5 separate regions of the Homo sapiens genome follow, and regions 2, 3, 4 and 5 are each linked to region 1. Evidence: promoter capture Hi-C in human tissues and cell types (Jung and others, 2019). All regions are on one chromosome and are shown on one strand. Each heading gives the region's core, a stretch centred on a gene start or on the middle of the fragment in contact. The rest is flanking DNA. Distances are from core to core; before and after follow the strand shown. Region 1 holds the start of FBXO3 (F-box protein 3). Region 2 has its middle 6.7 kb from the start of KIAA1549L. Region 3 overlaps KIAA1549L (KIAA1549 like). Region 4 overlaps KIAA1549L (KIAA1549 like). Region 5 holds the start of LOC124902660 (a long non-coding RNA gene).

Region 1 (2,833 bases), core at 159-2,658:
TAAGCATATGCATAAACAATTTGGAAGCACAGAGATGTAGGCAGAGTTTTTTGTTGCTGTTGTTCTGTTTTGTTGGCTGGGTGGCAGGGGTTATAACTATTAAGCAAAACCATAAATAGAAGGCATTAATGGTATGAAGAATGGAGGAAATGGATTTTTTTGGGGCGGGGCATATCACTTCCACTCTTCCAAATAATTGAGAGAAACTTTCTCCAGGATATGGAAATGTTTGGAGAACTTAGTGACTGATGCATGTATAAGCTTGGAAAATTAACATTTATTGAGTATCTGGCCAGGCACTTTACATAAAGCGTTATCGCCATCCTTAGTTCACCAGAGGAGGGGTGGTTTTAGAGATGAGGGACAGTCTCAGAGAACTTAGGCGTAACTACGCCAGCATTTCACTAGTAGTGAAATAAATGACGGGCGTGTGAAGTCCAGGTCTGTCTGGATTCCCCAAAGCCCCTTACACCATACTACCTTTGGAAAAGCAATGGAAAAGAAGAAATCAGGCAAGTGATGTATGGACCCATTATACTTCCCCCACTCTCATTTTAATATCACCTTGGCAAAGCTGAAGAGCAGACATCTTCGTGCCTCCATCAGTTATGCCCTCTGGGAGTCTCAGTTCATCCCTTCACACGCGGGATACTTAACTCTGCGGGATCTAAACCCTGGCCAAAATAAATTTTAAAGCTGGAAAAAATCCACACTGTACCCTTTGCATTGCCCTAATAGGCTGAAAATAGCCATGATAACCAAATTAAGGGACAGCGGCTGAGACTCAGACTCACTCCTTGTACACATTTTACTTAGGAAGGCGGGGAGGGGCGTGAAGTTAAGCCCTCAACAATTATTTCCTTAATTTGGGAGAAGGGCCTTCAGCTGGCGTCCCTGGCTGATTCTCAGCTCTGCTCTTGCTGAGTGGACAAGTCTCGGAGCGGCCCTGCTGTGTGCGGGGGACAAGCGGGGTGGGGAAGGCTGAGCGGGGAAAACGAGGGGTTCTCGGGTTGGAAAACAAAGAGAAGGAATGGATTTGGGGACCAAGGGCGTGGAGGAGTGTCAGATTTTGAGCGAGGCTTCCTGCATACTGAGTGTAAAATTTCGCAGGAGGAGTTGGGCAGACCGAGGCAGATTTGGCAACAAAAGGGTCCCGGGCTGGGCAAGTTTACGAACCGGGATGCGAGAACAGAGCTGGAGAGATTTGACGCGGAGCGCGAAGAAAGCGGGCTGAACTCGCACTGCGCCGCTGGCTCCCGGCTAGCGGGCGGGGTCTCCAGGGAGCCGCACCTCAGCCCACCCTGAGGGCGGGGCTGGCCCGGCGGTTACATAACAAACCTGTGAGAGCGGCTGGGGGCGGTTCGGGCGCTGGTGGGGGCGGGGCAGGGGCGGGGCCAGGGCGGGGCCAGACCTGCACCGGGCCAGGCAAGATGGCGGCCATGGAGACCGAGACGGCGCCGCTGACCCTAGAGTCGCTGCCCACCGATCCCCTGCTCCTCATCTTATCCTTTTTGGACTATCGGGATCTAATCAAGTAATGGGACGACACGCATGGCAGGGGTGGGGGCATGGGGAGAGGAGGCGGTGAGGCAGGGGGAAAGGGGGTCGGGGCCGCTGACAGGACCCGAGCTTCCGCGACACCAGAAGGTGACGCCAGGGCCGCCCTCATCCTGCGGAGCCACCGGGGACCGGGGCGAGACGGGGGCGGAAAGGGCCTCGCCCTGAGTCTTCCTCCTGTCCTGGGCCCAGGTATGAGAAGCGACGAGATATCTCTCTCCCAGGCCTCGGTGAGGCCCACTTGCAAGAGAAGGAGGTAGTGGCCCTCGTGCCGCACCGCCGCGCTCCGCGGACCCCCGCTGGCCCCGCAGGTGCCCGCCCGGTTGGGGTCAGTCCCTGCTGCTGTGTAAAAGCCCCTGTCCCGGCCAGGCGCTCTTCTCTGCTGGGTCCGGGGCCTGCGGAGTCTGGCGCCGGGGTGGGCAGGTGGGTGAGCGAGAGGAGAAGATAGGCAACCCCTTACTCCCCTGGCGCGACTTCCCCAGCGCCAGAATCGCTGTCCGGGCTCACTTTCGGACTTCAGTGCGTGAGAATTGTTTTGCTGTCAGCATTGCTCCTTACGGTTCGATGTTGGATTTTATGTTTTGGTACTGACTTCCGGTGATGCCATACCGGTGACTATCTTTTCTCCTGGACACCTTGGGTTTCCCACATTACTAGCATCTGTTCCAGAAATAAACACCGGTTGCTGATAAGGGTGGTTCAATGCCCAGTTTCTTCAGAACTTGGGACTGTCTGGGGTGGTGGAAGAAATGGCGCTGCCAGCCCGCCCCCCAGCTGTCAGGATTGTTTACACCCTTGACAGGGGGTGGCATGGCTGTGAGTTTCCTGTGCTACCGTATATATTTGCAGAGGATGCAAAGTCGCCCTCTTAGGATAGGTGGGCGAGATTTGTTTTGTGTTTGGATTAACCATTAGATTCTAGCCATTTGATGATTGTGCCCTGTGTTATTAGAGGTCTTTTTATAAATACAGATTTCTTGGAGCTACAGATAGTTGTTGGCCTAGCTAAGTGGTGATAGAGAGATACCTCAAGTTTTTGGTCACTACCTGTACTGGTCGCTACCTGTACCTGCTAGCAATTTTATTTTTCTAGAAAATACTTACAATTTAACTAACAGTCTCCAACTTTTGATTGCTGCCAGAGTAATCTTTCCAAGACACATCTGGTTGTCATTCTCCTTAAAACCTGTGACACCCCTATGTTTATAGACTATAACCTAAACTTCTGGGGCATTGAAAGCTCTTATCATCTGGCTTGTATATCTAAGGTCCTCCA
Region 2 (2,833 bases), core at 203-2,702, 410 kb after region 1:
CATGGTGAAACCCCATCTCTAATAAAAATAGAAAAATTAGCCAGGCATGGTGGTGCACACCTGCAATCCTAGCTACTCAGGAGGCTGAAGCAGGAGAATCACTTGAACCCGGGAGGCAGAGGTTGCAGTGAGCCGAGATCATGCCACTGCACTCCAGCCTGGGCAGCAGAGTGAGATTCCGTCTCAAATAAATAAATAAATAAATCCTCCAGTGGGAGGAGGCAGGGTCTTTTGTTTGTTTTTTAACGATCAAAGGTCAATCTGTCTCTCACTAATACTTCTGTTGCTTTTGGGATTCATCCAATAGCAGAGCAGAGATCTGGTCTAGCATTTGACAGTATGGGGCTAGCTCATTTTTACTGTCTCTCTTTGCCCTCAATTTCTTGTCTCACTGTGTTGAGACTATTTCTTGGGCTCTGTGGGGTGGAAACCAGGATTGGTCATTGAAAATCTCAATGATTTACAACCTGAGTTGAAGTCCTAACTCCATCACCTAATAACTAGTAACCTTGAGAAAACTTTAAAACGCTACCACACTATCCCTTTCAGAAACTAGAGATATCTACCCAAGATATCAAGATACATGTATCTACTCAAAACAAATAAAAGCGTATGTTCACACAATGCTTTTACACAAATATATGGAGCAGCATTATTCACAATAGCCAAAAAGTGGGAAGAACTCATGAACTGGTGAAAAGATAAATAGAATGTGGGACAACCAAATACTGTTCATCGATAAAAAGGAAGAAAGTACTGATACATGCTACAACACTGATGAATTGAAAATACTATGCGAAATGAAAGAAGCCAGTCACAAAAGGTCACAATATTCTATGACTCCGTTTGTATGAAGTGTCCAGAAAAGGCAAACCAAAGAGAAAGTAGATTAGTGCTTACCTGGGGCTGGTGAGTAAAAACAAAAAGTGACTGTAATGGGCACAAAGTTTCTTTTTAGGGTAATAGAAATGTTTTAAAATTAGATTGTGGTCATAGAGAATTTAATGTCCTCCTAAAGCCAGGCACAGTGGCTCGAGCCTGGAATTCCAGCACTGGGAGGCCCAGGTGGGATTAGTTGAAGCCAGGAGTTCAAGCCCAGCCTGGGCAATACAGCAAGACCCTGTCTCTAAAAAAGTAAAGAAAAGAAAAGTCCTCCGAAAAGTCCTCCAAGAGATTGGACATCATCTTGACAGTGACAGTGAAAATTTGAAAGCAGGCTGGCATCCAAAGGCAACTTCAGAATTTTCATGAGAAGCTTTGAGGAAACTGGTCCAGGACTCGTCTTGAAGCTGAATTTGATAAGAAGAGCTCTGCTTTCACTTAGGTTATGTTTACTTGCCCCTTCTATTGCTCCAAGCATCTCCTTGGCACCTCCACTGCTACTGTCTTGGTCAAAATTGAATTTTAAAAAGACCACCTGGAAAGTAATGAGGAAGGTTGGAGGAGTGGGGGTGGACTCAAAGCCAGGAAGTCAGATAAAAGTATTAGTTTGGATAAGTTCCAGGTCTGAACTGAGGCAGCACAATGAGGATGGTAAGGAGACAGGAACAGTGTTGAAGGATTTGACAGGGAGTAACCAATGATACCAGGAGAAAGAGGAAGAGGAGGAGGGAAAGGGAAGAGAAGGGAAGGGAAGGGAAGGGAGAAGGGAAGGGAGAAGGGGAGGGGAAGGAAAGGGAGGGGAGGTAGGGGAGAAGGAAGGAAAGTAGGAAGGAAGATAGGTATCTGGGAATACAGGAAATATAGATACAGGAAAATTAGGCTTGGGGGAAAAAAACAAGTGCTAAAAGGAGCATCCAGGTAAAGCTGTCCATTAGGCCCAAGTTTCACAAACTCGAATGTACACATAAGTTACATGGGGATGTTGCTAAAATGAAGATTCTGATTAAAAAGGCCTGGGGTTACCATGGCTAGAAAAATTCCAGAAAATAAAGAAATCTATTTTTAAAAAATTTTGAAGTGAAAAAAAAGTAGTAAAAAAAATTGAAATACAAAAAGAAAAACAAAAATAAGTAGTAAAAAATACAAAAAAACACAAAAATATACAAAAAAAAAAAAAAGAGAGAGAGAGAGGCTAAAAAGAACGTCTGGGGTCACCCAGGAGTCTGCATTTATTTATTTATTTATTTATTTATTTATTTAAGAGGGAGTCTTGCTCTGTTGCCCAGGCTGGAGTACAGTGGCGTGATCTCAGCTCCCTGCAACCTCCGCCTCCCAGGTTCAAGCGATTCTCTTGCCTCAGCCTCCTAAGTAGCTGGGATTACAGGCATTCACAACCATGCCTGACTAATTTTTGTATTTTTTAGTAGAGAAGGGTTTTCACCATGTTGGTCAGGCTGGTCTCAAACTCCTGACCTCAGGTGATCCACCCGCCTCAGCCTCTGAAAGTGCTGGGATTACAAGCGTGAGCCATGGCACCCAGCCCCAGAGTCTGCATTTCTAACAAACTGTCAAGTGATGCCGAGGCTGATCGGAGACAACTCTTTGAGTAACAAGATATTGGGCCATTCGGTATAGGGCTTATACCTAACGTCAGTGAGTGAATTTTTAAAAAATCAAATCCCTAAGCTTTGGTAGTTGTTGAAAAGCTATTCCTGTGTTTTTACAAGAAACGAAAAATGAAAAAACAAAAAACAGCTTCATTTCTACTCTTCACTTCCCTGGAGATGACTAGGCACGGCCTCTGTATCCGTGGTTCTGCATCCACAGATTCAACCAACCTCAGGTGGAAAATACTCAGAGAAAAACTATAAAAAAATAGCAATACAGCAATAAAAACGTGGAAATAAAAAACAATATGGTATAACAACTTTTTGCATAGTGCTTACATTGT
Region 3 (2,833 bases), core at 212-2,711, 370 kb after region 1:
CACACCGTTTCTAACCTCTGACTATTGTGTTGTTCTGAAGGAGGAATATTTCCCCACACAAGCAGTTGCTGACTTTTTTTCAAGTGCAGTTTAAGGATACCTAATTTTTTTTTTTTTTTTTTTTTTGAGATGGAGTCGCGCTCTGTCACCCAGGCCGGAGTGCAGTGGCAAAATCTTGGCTCACTGCAGCCTTTGCCTCCTGGATTCAAGTGATTCACCTGCCTCGCCCTCCCGAGTAGCTGGGATTACAGGCATGCGCCACTATGTCCGGCTAATTTTTTTTTTTTTTTTTTTGTATTTTTAGTAGTGATGGGGTTTCACCATGTTGGCCAGGCTGGTCTCAGACTCCGGGCCTCATGTGATCCGTAGAACACTTAATCTTAAAGATGATGTCAGAAATGAGACAACCAACTCCCTAACCAAGGAAAGTCTATATCACTTTGGACATGTGGGACTGGGACAGAGAGGTGCCAAAAAAACTTGCTCACATGAGGCATCTGTGTGTAGGAAGCTTTCCTAAAGGTTTGGGAAGATCTAAAATTTCTGTATACATATATACATGTGTATATATATATATATATATATACACATATACAGAGTATGTATATATATATCTCTAACTTATGGAGAGCGCCATATAAAATATTAGACTTGGAAGATATTAGATATTAGATATCACTGAATCCAATTTTGCTGATGGGGAAACACCACATGATAGGCCCAAAACCAAGATCACGCAGATGCTATGTGACGAAGTCCCCTGCCCAGCAACACTCCCAACTCAGAATTTAGTTCTCTATTCCCGACTGATGCCCAGAGCACCAGTTAGCTACCTGCCTAGCTCCAGAATGTATTAGCTCAGTTTTACATGTTTTAGAAAAGAAGGTACTACAAAAGACATTTTCCAATCTTTCTGTTTTGTACACAATATTTGTTCCTTATTTCAGAAGAGTAGAATTGATTGAGGTTTTTTCCTCCAGAAAGCGGATAATTAAACAACAAGGTAAAATTTTTATTATCTTAACACCCCTTGAGAAGGAAACTGTCTTGTTTACAAGGTGGGAAAAAAAAACAACTTGATGAGCTTCTTGGGCTTGGAAGGTGAGACCCTGCAGGAACGGGTCATTCCCAGTAGGAAGTTGACTAAAGAAAGCTCAAGAACTCTGAGTGAGAACTCATGAGGAATGTGGGGGTTGAGGATGAAAGGGAAGAGAGAAAATGGATAGACGGGCGCAGAAGGCTGGGGGATTTAAAGTTTTTAGAATTGGCCAGGAACTTTTCAGAACAAGGAGGCAGGGTTTCCCTTGTAAAGCCATCTGCTTCACTGCAAGGCAAACCCTTAGGATTCCCCAACCCTCATTAGAGTCTTCTCTGTACTTGTGAATGGTGAGTTCAGGTGGGTGGTTTGAAGGAATTAAAAGGATTAGGGCAGGGCACGGTGGCTCAGGCCTATAATCCCAGCAATTTGGGAGGCCAAAGCGGGCAGATCACTTGAGGTCACAAGTTTGAAACCAGCCTGGCCAACACGGTGAAACCCCGTCTCTACTGAAAATACAAAAATTAGCAAGGCACGGTGGCGCGTGCCTGTAATCCCAGCTACTCGCAGGCTTGCAGACTGAGGCAGGAGAATCACTTGAACCCGGGAGGCAGAGGTTGCAGTGAGCCAAGATCATGCCACCGCACTCCAGCCTAAGCGACAGAGTGAGACTGTCTCAAAAAAGAAAAAGAAAAAGGACTGCCGAGGCGGGCGGATCACGAGGTCAGGAGATAGAGACCATCCTGGCTAACACGGTGAAACGCCGTCTCTACTAAAAATACAAAAAATTAGCCGGGCGTGGTGGCAGGCGCCTGTAGTCCCAGCTACTCGGGAGGCTGAGGCAGGAGAATGGCGTGAACCCGGGAGGCGGAGTTTGTAGTGAGCCGAGATCACGCCACTGCACTCCAGCCTGGACGACAGAGCGAGACTCCGTCTCAAAAAAAAAAAAAAAAAAAAATGAAAAAAGAAAAAGGACTGAACTCCACATCTACCTAGATAGACCTATGAAGAACAGGAACAAAGAGTCCCTACCTTGAGCTAGTTCAGTGAAGCAAGAGCTCAAAGACAGAAACTAGAACATAAGTGCCTGAGGAATTTACAGGAATCGTGAACATTACACCTCCAGCAGCAGGCAACAGGAGGGCTGGAGCCAATCTAAGTAGGTCTTAAGGGGCCAAAAGACCTCATCCGACACCTGGGTGTGCGAAAGCAAAGGTTAACAAAACTGTTACCCCAAAAATGAAGAATACGAAGCAGCAGCAAAGTATAACTGCATCCTGGTAGGTGCCTGATCCTTTACAATTAGATTCGTGAAGAAAGATGCAGTGAGCGCTGATCCCTTTGAGGCAGCGGAGGGCTAGGGGGCCTTAAGAAAGAAGAGTGCAGGGCAGAGTGGAGAGCAAATGTCAGACCTGCCCTGAATTTCAGGGGCTGCCAACTCTGGGGAGCTTTGCTCCGCTGCGCGGATTACAACACAACATAAGCAAAGGGGGTAGTTTGAGTTCCAGCTTCCCCATCTACATCCACCTGTCCCTAAGAGAGGAGATGATAGGATTCGGACCAAAGATGATTTGAAAACAGAGGCACCCAATGGAAAGCCCGGGGTCAAGGCAGCGGCCCCTCCCCTGCACATGCACACTGGTGTTGCCATATGGCCCGTGCACGTGTGAAGCATAAGTCGCAGCCGGCAGGAACCCCCTCCCCACCCAGCCATCCTGCAAGCCAGCCAAGCAAATGAAAGCCACACTCGGTTCCTAACAGGAATGCAAACAGCGGGTGTGTTGGGGCCGTGGGATT
Region 4 (2,833 bases), core at 194-2,693, 350 kb after region 1:
AGGAAATTATTTCAAGGGGGTTTGCTGAAAAAGAGGAAGGAGAAATAGGGACGGAGGGAGTATAGCAGCGAAGGGGGATGCATGGCCAAGGGAGGGCTTTCCTAACATGGAGAAATGGAAGACAAATCAGCATGCATATCTATGATGGGAGAGGAGCATACTGAGCAGGGGGAACTGCTGGCAGGAGGACCCCGACAGCCTGAGAGGGGATATTGTCTCCCACAAAGGGATCAGAGATGGTTCATCCTCAAAGGGAGAGAAGGCAGGATTCAGGCAGCCAGGTTAAGGCAGTGGTAAGGGCTTGTGGAAATCCTCTTCTACCTGTTTTTTCTTGGGAGATGGGGAGATTTTGTGAGGAAGAGAAGGTATGAAGCAGTCACCCTAGAGAATGGGCAGATGACTGTGCTAGGGAAATAGAGTGGCATTGCTGGGCAGCACCAAAGGCCCACTTGAGGTTCATGGTATAAACTGATGAGACTAATGAGCCTGGTCGTGTGGTTTTCTACCGCCCATTTAGTTGCCTGGGTAAAGGTGGAGAGCTACTGAATTTAATATTTATCCCTAAGTTTCCCCAAAACACATTTGACCACAGAAACCAATTAATAGCCCCAAAGAGCCTACATAAAATGCTAGTCTATGCTTAAACAGATAATAGGGGGTAGGAAAACACTGATTCCTAATTTTCTATCAAGCACAGATATAAATGATAATGGAGGGGCCAGATCTGGAGGCCCTCAGGGGAGCACCCACCAAGGGCAAAGGAGAAAAGATCAGCACAGCTGTCAGAACCTGAGCTTGCAGTCAGATTTCCACTCCATCCAAGTGCTCTTGGGCAAATGAATCTCTCTGAGATGTATCCTAAAATAAGGGAACTATCACCTACCTGCTTTTCAAAAATATTATTAAGATTAATGGTGACAAGCAGTTGGTACCCAGATTCTAGCACATAACAAACTTTCAATCTAAGGGTAATCATCATTATAGCCCCACAGCTCTGCCCAGGTGACCAGGTGAAAGATGATACAGCCAAAATACTATCACCTCCAGGTACTCAACCACCTGTGCACCAGGAGGGCCTCTGGGGATCTCAAAGAGTTAACCCTCCTTGCTCTCAATTTATGGTCAGGAACTCCATCAGTCAAGATACAGTTTGACTCCTTTAGCTTCAGAAAATTGGTCTTTCTAGCTCCTAAATTCATATGCAAGAAATGAAACCCCCTCTACTTCCCATAAAACAGGATATTTCACAAAGCTTTCATGTGTCCCAGTATCATGTTTTTAACTTCTGAAAAAACTTCAGACTCATAGAAAATTACCAAAGCAGAGAGTGCAGAGAGTTCAATACGCTTCACTTGGCTTCCTCTACTGTTAATATCCTACATAACCATAATACAATTACCAAAACCAAGAATATAACACTGATAAATTTATATTAACTACTCTAGACCTTATTTGAATGTTGCTAACTTTGTCTCTAATGTCCTTTTTCTGATGCAGAATCCAATCCAGGGTCCCACATTGCATTTAGTTCTCAAGTCTCCTTAGCCTCCACCAATCTGTGACAGTTCCTCAGTCTTTCTTTGTCTTTCATGACCTTGCCATCTGTGAAGAGGACTGACTAGTCAGGTATTTTGTAGAACTGCCCTTAATTTGGGTTTGTCTGGTGTTTTCTCGTGCTTAGACTGAACTTGTGCATTTTCAGTAAAAATCCCAAAGAAGTGATGTTTTGCCTTTTGCTCTGTGCATCAAAATAAGGAGAACATGTTGACACATCTCATTACTGGTGATGTTATCTTTGATTACTTTATTTGGCTAAAGTAGTGTTTGCTGGGTTTCTCCATCCATATGACGTGTGATGCAAAGTGAAATAGAATTCCAGCCTTTCCTAATAATAGCGGAAATAAGCAGATGTTTTCATCTACGTACAGCAAGTGAGAGGACTTGAACTCAGGTTTTCCAAGTCCAAATGCTGTCTTCATTGTACTCTCATTACTGCATTTGGATGTCTCCCATGAATATTTATCTCAAGTATATTTCAAAGCTTATGTTCCATAAGGAAATGCCACAACAAATCACTCTTATGAGCCCAGGGCTTCTCCAATGAAAGCTACAGTACAAAGTATAAAACACAGTTGTCAGAGAAACAGATATTAACATGAAGATCCCTTGATACATCACAGTGACACAGGAACATTCTCAATGACTGCACTTTATTTGCTGCAAGTACAGAGAACAAATCAGCAGAGAATGAGTCAACCAAGAGAACCAAGAGTCCTCTAATTGACAAAATTTTAAAATAGGACTTGAGGACCAAGAAGAAGAGCTGTAAGAAACACAAGGTAAGTTCTCTTCTGCTCTAGATACTAACGTATATACAAATCTTCAAATCAATTAACTCATCTTAGGCTCTGAAAAGCTCCTTGAGATGGAATTAGAGCACATATTAACATCTCCACCCTACAAATGAATAAAATAAGACATAAAGAGATCAAAGTTTGGTATCTAGAAAGGGAATCAAAATCAAGGTTTTATTTGTTCATTCATTTAACTAGCACTGACTCCCTGCCAACTTTCTATTCTAAGTGCTGGGCATTTGGAGATACTGGAGACCCATGGTCTCTTGACTGGAGGAGTTTAGCTTTCCTCATGCCCTCTGTACAGAGGCCAGAAAGGCAGCACCTCTCCCAACCTCATTCTTCACCTCCTCACCACACAGAGTCCACAGCCATCAGGATTCTACAGAAGCAGGCTGCATCTGTGATGATACTTGGAGAGGAGTATATTTCAATACTCTGTATTTAAAACTTGAACAAAGATCATCATTCTCCTGGTT
Region 5 (2,833 bases), core at 226-2,725, 290 kb before region 1:
TATCCATGATAGATGTCCTCCTGGGCTTTGCTTCTTTATTGTTATAGCCAACAAATTCCACAAATAAAAAATTTAAGAAGAAATTTTTAATTATGCAATTAAAAATAAATAGCAAAGAGAGATGATAAACTCCAAAAAACCCTAAAAATTCTTCAACTAGACAATTTTAAATAGTCAGAAGGAAGATTAGGAGGAAACATCTGAAAAAAACTAACTTGGCTTTCCAGGAAAACTTCGTAACTCCTATTCTCAAATAAGGAGATGTCTAAACTGAGAGGGAATACTTAAAAATGAAGCCTAAAATAACCAAAGTAGTTAAGAGCACCTAGCTATACTTTATGTATCCAGGCCAAATAAATCACTTCTAGAGTACTGTACCAACTTTTGCAAAAACAAAATATTTCTTTTCCTCTCAACTTTCCATAATCTTTAGCAGTTTTCCTTTTTTTTTTTTTTTTTTGAGACGGAGTTTTGCTCTGTCGCCCAGGCTGGAGTGCAGTGGCGTGATCTCAGCTCACTGCAAGCTCTGCCTCCTAGGTTCACGCCATTCTCCTGCCTCAGCCTCCCGAGTAGCTGGGACTACAGGCGCCCACCACCACGCCCGGCTAATTTTTTTTATTTTTAGTAGAGACGGGGTTTCACTGTGTTAGCCAAGATGGTCTTGATCTCCTGACCTCGTGATCCGCCCGCCTCGGCCTCCCAAAGTGCTGGGATTACAGGCGTGAGCCACCGCGCCCGGTCCAATCTTTACCAGTTTTTCCAGGTATTATTTCAAGTCCCCAATCCCCACATTCTCTGTTCTTCACTTAGACAATTACGAGTTTTGACTTTGCCCACAATGGTAGGCAGCTGACTGTCTCCTATTTGCCCTCCACAAATTCAACTGAGTATTGTTAGCTAGTGAAATCCCCAGAAGACAAAAAAGATAGTAAGCAAAAGTTTCCTCAATTTTTAAAAGCAGGGTAGAAAGAACATACACTACAATCCATAGCTGATCCATGGCAGCTTTCTTCAAATGTTGAAAGCATGCTCATGTAGCGGGAGTCTATGCTGTTCCAGAAAACAAAGACTATTAAACAGTGGTGGTAAGGATATACTTTTTTTTTTTTTTTTTTGAGACAGACTCTCGCTGTGTCACCCATGCTGGAGTGTAGTGGTGCGATCTTGGCTCATGCAGCCTCTGCCTCCCAGGTTCCAGCGATTCTCCTGCCTCAGACTCCCAGGTAACTGGGATTACAGGCATAAGCCACTACGCACGGCTAATTTTTGTATTTTTAGTAGAGACGGGGTTTCACCATGTTGGCCAGGCTGATCTCCAACTCCTGACATCAGGTGATCTGCCCGCCTCAGCCTCCCAAAAGTGTTAGGATTACAGGCATGAGCCATTGTGCCCGGCCGGTAAGGATATACTTCTACCACCAAGAACTTAAAGAGTGGCACACCAATGAAACAAATTTTCATTGAGAAACGAGCACTCTACCAGGCCCTGGAAGACTGGTTAAAGCAGAGGCTGAATGAACACCTGTCAGGAATGCTGGATTTCTGAACGCTAAGAATGGCATAAGAATGCTAACCTAGGCCAGGTGCAGTGGCTCATGCCTGTAATCTCAACACTTTGGGAGGCCAAAGTGGACGAATCTCCTGAGGTCAGGAGTTTGAGACCAGCCTGGGCAACATGATGAAACCTGGTCTCTACTAAAAATACAGAAAATTAGCCGGGTGCGGTGGTGGTTGCCTATAATACCAGCTACTTGGGAGGCTTAGGCAGGAGAATCACTTGAACCTGGGAGGCAGAGGTTGCAGTGAGCTGAGATTGCGCCATTGTACTCCAGCCTGGGCAACAAAAGCAAAACTCCATCTCAAAAAAAAAAAAAAAAAAAAAAAGGATGTTACCTAAGGTTCCATTGTAAGATAATTTTTCAAGCAGGTTAAGTATCCAGGAGTTTAGTTTCACAAGCCGTTTGTCCAATTTTTTAAAAAAGATAAAAGCCAATCCTGTAAAAACCTTTATTCCTTGTCCAAGGTTATAATTATGCAGGTAAGTCTGAGTGAATTGAAGCAGCTGACTCTAGTAGGAAAAAGAAATGTTAACAAGTTCCAGCATCACCTACTTTGAACTATATTCTTAAAAAGTCTAAAGCTTCTAGATTTGAAAAGCAAATTACCATAAATAATCTTAAAGGGCATCTTTCAAAATATTAGTTGCTTTAACCAAGCTATTCCTTAGCATAATTCTGTACAACTTATTTATATTAATACATTCCTTGGGAGTTAAATGTAAAAAAATTACATCCCCACCATCACTGTTTTAATACTTTTTCGTTTTCTAAAACAGCACAGACTCCTGCTACATGAGCAAGCTTTCAGCATTTGAAGATAGCTGCCATGGATCATCTATAGATTGCAATGTGTTCTTTCTACCGTCGTCCTTTTAAAAATTGAGGAAACTTTTGCTTACTATCTTTCCTGTCCACAATGTAAAAAGAAGTTCAATGTAACTCAAAGTGTAAGCCCAAAGGGTTTTTTAATGACTAAAATATATTTCAGTTATTTCTATGTTTAGATAACAGTATTGAGGGGGGCCAGGCACAGTGGGTCAACCCTGTAATCCCAACACTTTGGGAGGCTGAGACAAGAGGATCGCTTAAGGCTAAGAGTTCAAGGTTGGAATGAGCTATGATTGCCCTGCTGAACTCCAGCCTGGGTGATAGTGAGACCCTGTCTCTAAAAAATTAAAATTAAAATATTTTTAGAACAGTATTGAGGAGAATGCAATGAAATTTCCAATAATGTACAATGGTTCTAATAATAAGAATTATCTGTGTTCTCTTAA

The links. The method cuts DNA at HindIII sites, captures the fragments that hold promoters and counts their contacts. A contact is called where the count stands out against the background at its distance.
Region 2: a fragment that was not itself captured here is called in contact with the fragment with the promoter of FBXO3 in region 1 in 1 of the 25 tissues and cell types used here (heart right ventricle).
Region 3: a fragment that was not itself captured here is called in contact with the fragment with the promoter of FBXO3 in region 1 in 1 of the 25 tissues and cell types used here (heart left ventricle).
Region 4: a fragment that was not itself captured here is called in contact with the fragment with the promoter of FBXO3 in region 1 in 1 of the 25 tissues and cell types used here (IMR-90 fibroblasts).
Region 5: a contact is called between a fragment that was not itself captured here and the fragment with the promoter of FBXO3 in region 1, in 1 of the 25 tissues and cell types used here (dorsolateral prefrontal cortex).

The regions. Positions count from the first base shown.
Region 1 is chr11:33,773,095-33,775,927 of GRCh38, reverse strand. FBXO3 (F-box protein 3) reads left to right here and starts at 1,408. Exons shown (of 11, transcript NM_012175.4): 1 at 1,408-1,534. The coding sequence starts at 1,431. It overlaps FBXO3-DT (FBXO3 divergent transcript), which reads right to left and starts at 1,229. Exons shown (of 3, transcript NR_120550.1): 1 at 1,177-1,229; 2 at 565-674; 3 at 258-480. RefSeq lists silencers at 1,316-1,415, 1,876-1,945 and an enhancer at 1,894-2,394. The HindIII fragment of the contact is 9,520 bases long and covers 1-2,833 here.
Region 2 is chr11:33,367,968-33,370,800 of GRCh38, reverse strand. No RefSeq gene overlaps it. Among named protein-coding and RNA genes, the nearest start is that of KIAA1549L, 6.7 kb to the left of the region's middle. The HindIII fragment of the contact is 3,548 bases long and covers 1-2,833 here.
Region 3 is chr11:33,406,243-33,409,075 of GRCh38, reverse strand. All of the region lies in intron 1 of KIAA1549L (KIAA1549 like), which reads right to left. Among named protein-coding and RNA genes, the nearest start is that of KIAA1549L, 32 kb to the right of the region's middle. The HindIII fragment of the contact is 6,349 bases long and covers 1-2,833 here.
Region 4 is chr11:33,424,739-33,427,571 of GRCh38, reverse strand. The region is part of intron 1 of KIAA1549L (KIAA1549 like); the gene reads right to left. Among named protein-coding and RNA genes, the nearest start is that of KIAA1549L, 50 kb to the right of the region's middle. The HindIII fragment of the contact is 4,649 bases long and covers 1-2,833 here.
Region 5 is chr11:34,060,252-34,063,084 of GRCh38, reverse strand. The region is part of intron 2 of CAPRIN1 (cell cycle associated protein 1); the gene reads right to left. LOC124902660 (a long non-coding RNA gene) reads right to left here and starts at 2,607. Exons shown (of 2, transcript XR_007062651.1): 1 at 1,894-2,607; 2 at 1-33. The HindIII fragment of the contact is 3,578 bases long and covers 1-2,833 here.